Regions from separate parts of the Homo sapiens genome. Here region 1 is linked to region 2. The links are contacts of gene promoters, found by promoter capture Hi-C in blood cells and fetal thymus (Javierre and others, 2016). All regions are on one chromosome and are shown on one strand. Each heading gives the region's core, a stretch centred on a gene start or on the middle of the fragment in contact. The rest is flanking DNA. Distances are from core to core; before and after follow the strand shown. Region 1 overlaps CD244 (CD244 molecule). Region 2 holds the start of CD48 (CD48 molecule).

Region 1 (3,260 bases), core at 686-3,185, 130 kb after region 2:
GCCCTAACCTGGCTGCCAACTAGAGGCAAATATAAGTTATGACTAGAGGAAAATAACATCAACCAGAGCATTAAATTATTCCTAGAATGTTTCATACACAATATCCAAAGTGAAGTATAAGAAAAGGAAACATCTCCAAAAACCAACAGAAGAATAGAGACAACAGAAACCAACAAACAGGGCATCTACATAATAGAGTTGTCAGTCATAAACTTTAAAGTAATCATGTCTAATATGTTCAAGGAAATAAAACATAAGTTTAAGAATTTCAGCAGAGAACTAGCGTGATAGAATGCAAAAATACCATGTCCTTGCAATGTGACTTTACAGCTCCTTCTGTTATCAAGAAATGGGGTTCATTTCCCTGTCTCTTGGAACTGGGCTGGTCTTCATGATGAAACGCAGCAAAAATGATGTTCTGCTAGTTCTAAGCCTAGATCTGAAAAGGCATTGCACATTTCTACTTGTTCTCTTGGAACCTCATCTGGCTGACCTGTGAACAAGCCTAAAATAGCCTGCTGGAGAATAAGATATCACATGATACAGAGATAAGCCAACACAGCTAAGGCCATTCTAAATCAGCTAGCCCTGGCCTGGTGCGGTGGCTCATGCCCGTAATTCCAGCACTTTGGGAGGCCAAGGCCGGCAGATCACTCAAGGTCGGGAGTTCGAGACCACCCTGGCCAACATGGTAAAACCTCGTCTCTACTAACGATACAAAAATTAGCCAGACATGGTGGCACACACTTGTAACCCCAGCTACTTGGGAGTCTGAGGCACGAGAACTGCTTGAACCCGGGAGATGGAGCTTGCAGTGAGCCGAGATATCATGCCACTGCACTCTAGCCTGCATGACAGAGCAAGACCTAATCTCAAAAAACAATAAAAAATAAATAAATGAATCAGCCACCCGTGGCCAGTCTGGCAGCTGACCACACATGCATGACTGATGCAAGAGGAAACCAAAAGAACCACCTAGCTGAGCCCAGCCCAAATTGCCAACTAGCAGAATCACTAACTAAATAGGTAGTTGTTTTAAACTACTGGATTTTGGAGTAGGTCATTATGCAGCAATAGTTACCTGAAATTGGATTTTTTTTAAAGAATTCAATGAAAATTACAGAAATAAAATGTAAAATAACTGTAAAACAAACTCAATTGAAAGGTTAAAAAGGCCATTTAGATGCCATTGAAAAGAGAATTAGAAAACTGTTATAAAATATCCAGAGTGAAGTAAAGAAAAACAAAAGGATAAAAATACACAAGAAGGAGTGTAAAAGATATTTGAGATATAGCAAAAACAAAACAAAACCCCTAAACTAAGTGTAATTGGAAAGCAAGGAGACGAGAGAGGAAAGAGGAACTAAGCAAAAGAGATAAAAGATAAGAATTTCCCAAAACTGACAAAAGCCATCAAGATAGATTTGTAAAATGTGTTACAAACCCCAAGCAAGATCAAAACAAACCGACAAGCTGGGCACGGTGGCTCACGCCTGTAATCCCAGCACTTTGGGAGGCCCAGGTGGATGGATCACCTGACGTCAGGAGTTTGAGACCAGCCTGGCCAATATGACAAAATCCCATCTCTGCTAAAAATGCAAAAATTAGCCAAGTATGGTGGTGCACACCTGTAATCCCAGCTACTTGGGAGGCTGAGGCAGGAGAATCACTTGAATCCAGGAGGTGGAGGTTGCAGTGAGCCGAGATCACGCCACTGCACTCCAACCTGGGCAACAAGAGTGAAACTCTGTCTCAAAAAAAAAAAAAGAAAAAAAACAAACCAATGAACAAAAGACAACCTCTCAATACATCAAAAAAATTATGGAAACCAAAGATAAATAGAAAAATCGTAAAATAGCCAGAGTGGGGGAAAACTAAATTCCCTTCACAAAACAAACAACTTAGCTGACATTTCAGCAAAAATAATAAAAAGCAGATGATGGAATGGTATCTTTTTTTTTTATTTTTCCATAGGTTATTGGGGTACAGGTGGTGTTTGGTTACAAGAGAAAGTTCATTAGAGGTGATTTGTGAGTCGGTGCACCCATCACCCGAGCAGTATACACTGCACTCTATTTATAGTCTTTTATCCCTCACTCCCCTCCCACTTTTCCTCCCAAGTCACCAAAGTCCACTGTATCATTCTTATGCCTTTGCATCCTCGTAGCTTAACTCCCACGTATCAGTGAGAACATACGTTGTTTGGTTTTCCAAGGAATGATATATTTAAAGTGCTGAAAGAAAATAACTGCCTATCTAGAATTTCGGTACTTCAAAGATGAAAGCAGATGCAGTGGCTCATGCCTGTAATCCCCGCACTTTGGGAGGCTGAAGCAGGTGAATCAGTTGAGGTCGGGAGTTGGAGACCAGGCTGGCCAACATGGCAAACCCCATCTCGACTAAAAATACAAAAGTTAGCTGAGCGTGGTGGCACGCGCCCATAATCCCGGCTACTCAGGAGGCTGAGGCACGAGAATCACTTGAACCCAGGAAGTCAAGGCTGCAGCGAGCCAAGATGGTGCCACTCCCCTCCTGCCTGGGTGACAAAGTGAGACTGTCTCAAAAAATAGTAATAATTTTTTAAATGAAGCTGAAATAAAGACATTTTTAGAAAAAATTAAAAACGGAAAGAATTTGTCACAAAAAGGCCTGCAGTAAAGGAAATACCAAAGGATGTTCTTTAGATATAAAGAAAATGGAAACTCAGGCACAAGAAGTGAAAAACAATAGAAACAGATGTAATTTGTGACAATAAAAGTGGGGGGATAGAGCTGTATAGGAGTTTTCTATAGTATTGAGGCTGAATTGGCATCAATTCAAACTATATTGTTGGAGGTATTCATTGTAATACCTGTGGTAACCATTGAGAAAATAACAAAATGTACAGAAAAAGAAATGAGAAGGGAATCAAAAAGATGCAGCACAAAAATATCAATTAAATACAAAAGAAGGCAATAACGGAGAAAATGAACAAAAAAAGACATAAGATGTATAAAAAATATACAGAAATAGAAGGAAATGTCATCATTATAAAAGAACCAATTAAGTAGGAATAAACAATCATCTTCAGTTTCTATGCATATAACAAGTTTAAAATATATAAAATAAAATTTGATAGAACTAAAAGGAGAAGTAAATCCACAACTATAGTTGGAGAGTTTTATTACATCTGTCTCTCTAGCTGCTACAAGAAGCACACAAAAAAATCAATAAGGCTATAAGAATTTGAAGATCATTAAACCAATATATATATAAATTAT
Region 2 (3,556 bases), core at 435-2,934:
ACCTTCACCAAGATTCCCTCGCCTTAGTCTAGGAAAGGTATAATCATAATAGAATGGTTTGGAAGTTAGACCTGTGTGCCCTTAGGAGAATTTCTTAATCTCTCTGCAAGACAGTATTCTCATCTGAAAAATGTAGATAATAATAGCCACCTCACTATTTTCTAATGAAAGTTAAATGAAAAAGTATGCAAAAGGCCTAGCACAATGTCTGACACACAGTAAGTGCTTAATTTGTATTTTACTAACCCAGGTTATAGCCCGGGTGTTATAACCCAGGTTTACTAACCTCATCAAAACCAATATTATCCATTCAAAGGATAACATAATCAGGTGTGGTCTGATTGTTTCAAAGAAGAATAAATGACCAAGATGAAGCCTAGAAAAGAAGTCAGAGAAAGGTCAACTGTCAGGATGTTTTCAGTATGCCTAGAGAAAGTCCTAAAATATTCCAATTCTCATTGGCAACCCTGCTTTTCCCAATAGTTAGATGAATACTTCACATCAGCCCCCAATCCCAAGGTCATACCAATGTCCTATGCATTGAGTCAGGCCCACAGAACCTATATAGCCGTAGACTCACACAGTCATGAACCAAAGGACTCTACCTGAGAGGTAGAATATGTGAGAGACCGATCCTCCACACATTCTACCTCATCTCCCCAAAAGTTACAAACTATCATCATTTTATGCCACAGTGTGACTACCACATGTTTGTTGATTTTTACTGTTTTACTCAGAGTGGTGAGCATTAAAGCCCTTTAAATTAAAAAGACTTGAGTATTTACTTGGGGGAATAGCAAGAAAGTCAAAGGTTTCACTGCTGTTTCTCAGCTGGCATAAGAAGAGAGGTACTGGATGAAGAAAGAGGGTGAGGCAGCTCTAACAGGAGAAGGAAAGTTAGCTCAGCCCTTGGTCACACACCGGGGACCGAACAGGCTGTGGCAGAGGAATGGACCTTAACTCTTAGCAATCAGATGTGTTAAGGTTCCTTTGATGCTGAAGCACTTCCAGCCTCTTCTCAGACCCTCATTCAGAGACCCCAGACAGCAATCCTTTCCAAGCTTTTCTTCCTATAATTTTGATCTATCTTTTCTTTGGGTCAATGACAATATCATTTACCTTGGCTCAGGATGCAACACCTCACATATACAGAGGTCTCAAAGAATGCCTAAGGGAGTACAGTGTGTCTGAGCATAAAATGCAGCAGCTGTCAGTGTAGAGCTTCTTCTTATTCAAAATGAAAAAACAAACACTTTTCCACAACTTCATGGACCACCAACCACGGGACAAAATATGAGGAGCCTACTTCTCTTGCTCCCCAGGTTCCTGTTTTGATCACATCCCCGTGGGAAAGGAGATGAAGCTCCATTCATCAGTGCTAAGAAAGGCTCCCCAACCATGCCATGGCCATGCTATTGGAATGGAAATACCTGCTTTCCAGACACCAGATCTGGCTTCTAGGGTTGAACTACATCCCGTCTCCCCTTTCCCAACTGACCATGCCTTCAGTGCACAATCACAGATACACAGTTGGTGGAAAGTACCTTGAATGCTGGTCACCAGGAGTGACAGAGGCAGCAGTAGCAATTCCAGAGCCAGACACGAATCCCAACCTCTGGAGCACATGCTTCCTTCCAGAACTTCCCAGCAACGCAGGAGACAGTTGAGAGCCTGGCTAGAAAAAGGCCGGGGCTAAAAACGGAACTTACCAAACAGGGTTAGAGAGAAAAAAAAAAAAACCACTGAGATTTTCTCTCCACCCAGCACACTTGTGTGGGGCCCCAGAAACCAGAAACCGGAGGTCTTGTAAATTTTTTTATCTAAGAGCATCACGGAAACTGAGAACAATTTTGTTTGAAGGTACATGAGTGCTTTTTTGTAGGGGGAAGATTCATAGCTTCTACTGTACTCTCAGGGGGGCCAGTACTCAGAAAAGAATAAGGGACCCTGATAGAGAATGTCTGCTTTTCGTTCCCAGGCAGGAATCCCTCTGATTAATTCAGGGGCTAAGACATAGGAGCTTCCCAGTCAAGCCTGGGTAGGTGTCATTCAGAGCCTGAAGTCTGGGAAATCAGACCCACGTAGCCTTTGTGCTGCATATCTTACCCCCAGCACCACCCTCTGCTCTTCTTCCTTTATGATAATTCACTATTTGAAGTTTGACATCAGCCTATCCACTGAACATCAGAAAAAAAGTAAGATTACTTGGCCCAAAAGAATGGATTTCCCACCCTTGTAGTCTGTATTAGTCTGTTCTCACACTGCTAATAAAGACATACCCCAGACTGGGTAATTTATAAAGGAAAGAGAGGGGTTTTGTTTTGTTTTGTTTGTTTTGGTTTTTTTTTTTTTTGAGATGCAGTCTCACTCTGTAGCCCAGACTGGAGTGCAGCAGTGCAATCTCAGCTCACTGCAACCTCCACCTGACAGGTTCAAGCAACTCTCCTGCCTCAGCCTCCTACATAGCTGGGATTACAGGCAAGCACCACCATGCCCAGCTAATTTTTGTATTTTTAGTAGGGTTTCACCATGTTGGCCCGGCTGGTCTTGAACTCCTGACCTCAAGTGATCCACCTGCCTCAGCCTCCCAAAGTGCTGGGATTATAGGCATGGGCCTGTGCCTGGCCAGGAAAGTGGTTAAATTGACTTCTAGTTCAGCATGGCTTGGGAAGCCTCAGGAAACCTACAATCATGGTGCAAGGGGAAGCCAATACGTCCTTCTTCACACGGTGGCAGGAAAGAGAAGCACTGAGCAGCAATGGGGAAAGCCCCTTCCTTATGAAACCATCAGATCTAGTGAGAACTCACTATCACGAGAACAGCATGATGGTAACTGCTCGTATGATTAACTTACTTCCTACTGGGTTGCTCCCATGATATGTGGGGATTATGGGAACTACAATTCAAGATGAGATTTGGAAGGGAACACAGCCAAATCATATCATGTCTAGGAAATTTCAAGCTCATTCCTATTGAATGTAAATTAGTTATTTGCCCACCCAGGACCCACAGGCAAGCCACAGTTCCTGATATAACATATTTGTAATCACTTTTTAATTGGGGACATTTCTGATTCTCAACATGGAGATGAACAATAAAATGTCTGCTCTTCTCAGTCCTCAAACCTGAAGGACATTATGTTAAGTGAAATAAGTCATGCACAGAAAGATAAAAAACCACGTTCCCAATCATATATGGAAGCTTAAAAAATGAGCTCATAGAAGTAGAGAGTAAAATTGTGGTTATCAGAGGCTGGGAAGGGTAGAGGGAAGTGGAGGATGGGAAGAAGTTGGTTAATAGATACAAAGTTACAGCTAGAGAAGAGGAATAAGTTCCAGCATCCTGTAGCACTATGGAGTGAATACAGTTAAGAATAATTTAATGTATATGTTCAAAAAGCTAGAAGAGAGGATTTGGAATGTTCCCAACACAAAGAAATGATCAATGTTTGAGGTGATAGGTATCCTAATTGCTTTGATTTGATCATCACACATTGAATACATGTATCAAAATATTACTCTGTATCCCATAAATATGTATAATTATTATATGTCAA

What was found. The method cuts DNA at HindIII sites, captures the fragments that hold promoters and counts their contacts. A CHiCAGO score of 5 or more calls a contact.
Region 1: a fragment that was not itself captured here is called in contact with the fragment with the promoter of CD48 in region 2 in 1 of 17 cell types (fetal thymus); the score reaches 5.8 in fetal thymus.

What each region holds. Positions count from the first base shown.
Region 1 is chr1:160,844,103-160,847,362 of GRCh38, forward strand. All of the region lies in intron 1 of CD244 (CD244 molecule), which reads right to left. Among named protein-coding and RNA genes, the nearest start is that of CD244, 17 kb to the right of the region's middle. The HindIII fragment of the contact is 5,513 bases long and covers 1-3,260 here.
Region 2 is chr1:160,710,138-160,713,693 of GRCh38, forward strand. It overlaps CD48 (CD48 molecule), which reads right to left and starts at 1,685. Exons shown (of 4, transcript NM_001778.4): 1 at 1,545-1,685. The coding sequence starts at 1,626. RefSeq lists enhancers at 1,934-2,113, 2,654-2,713. The HindIII fragment of the contact is 2,140 bases long and covers 1,060-3,199 here.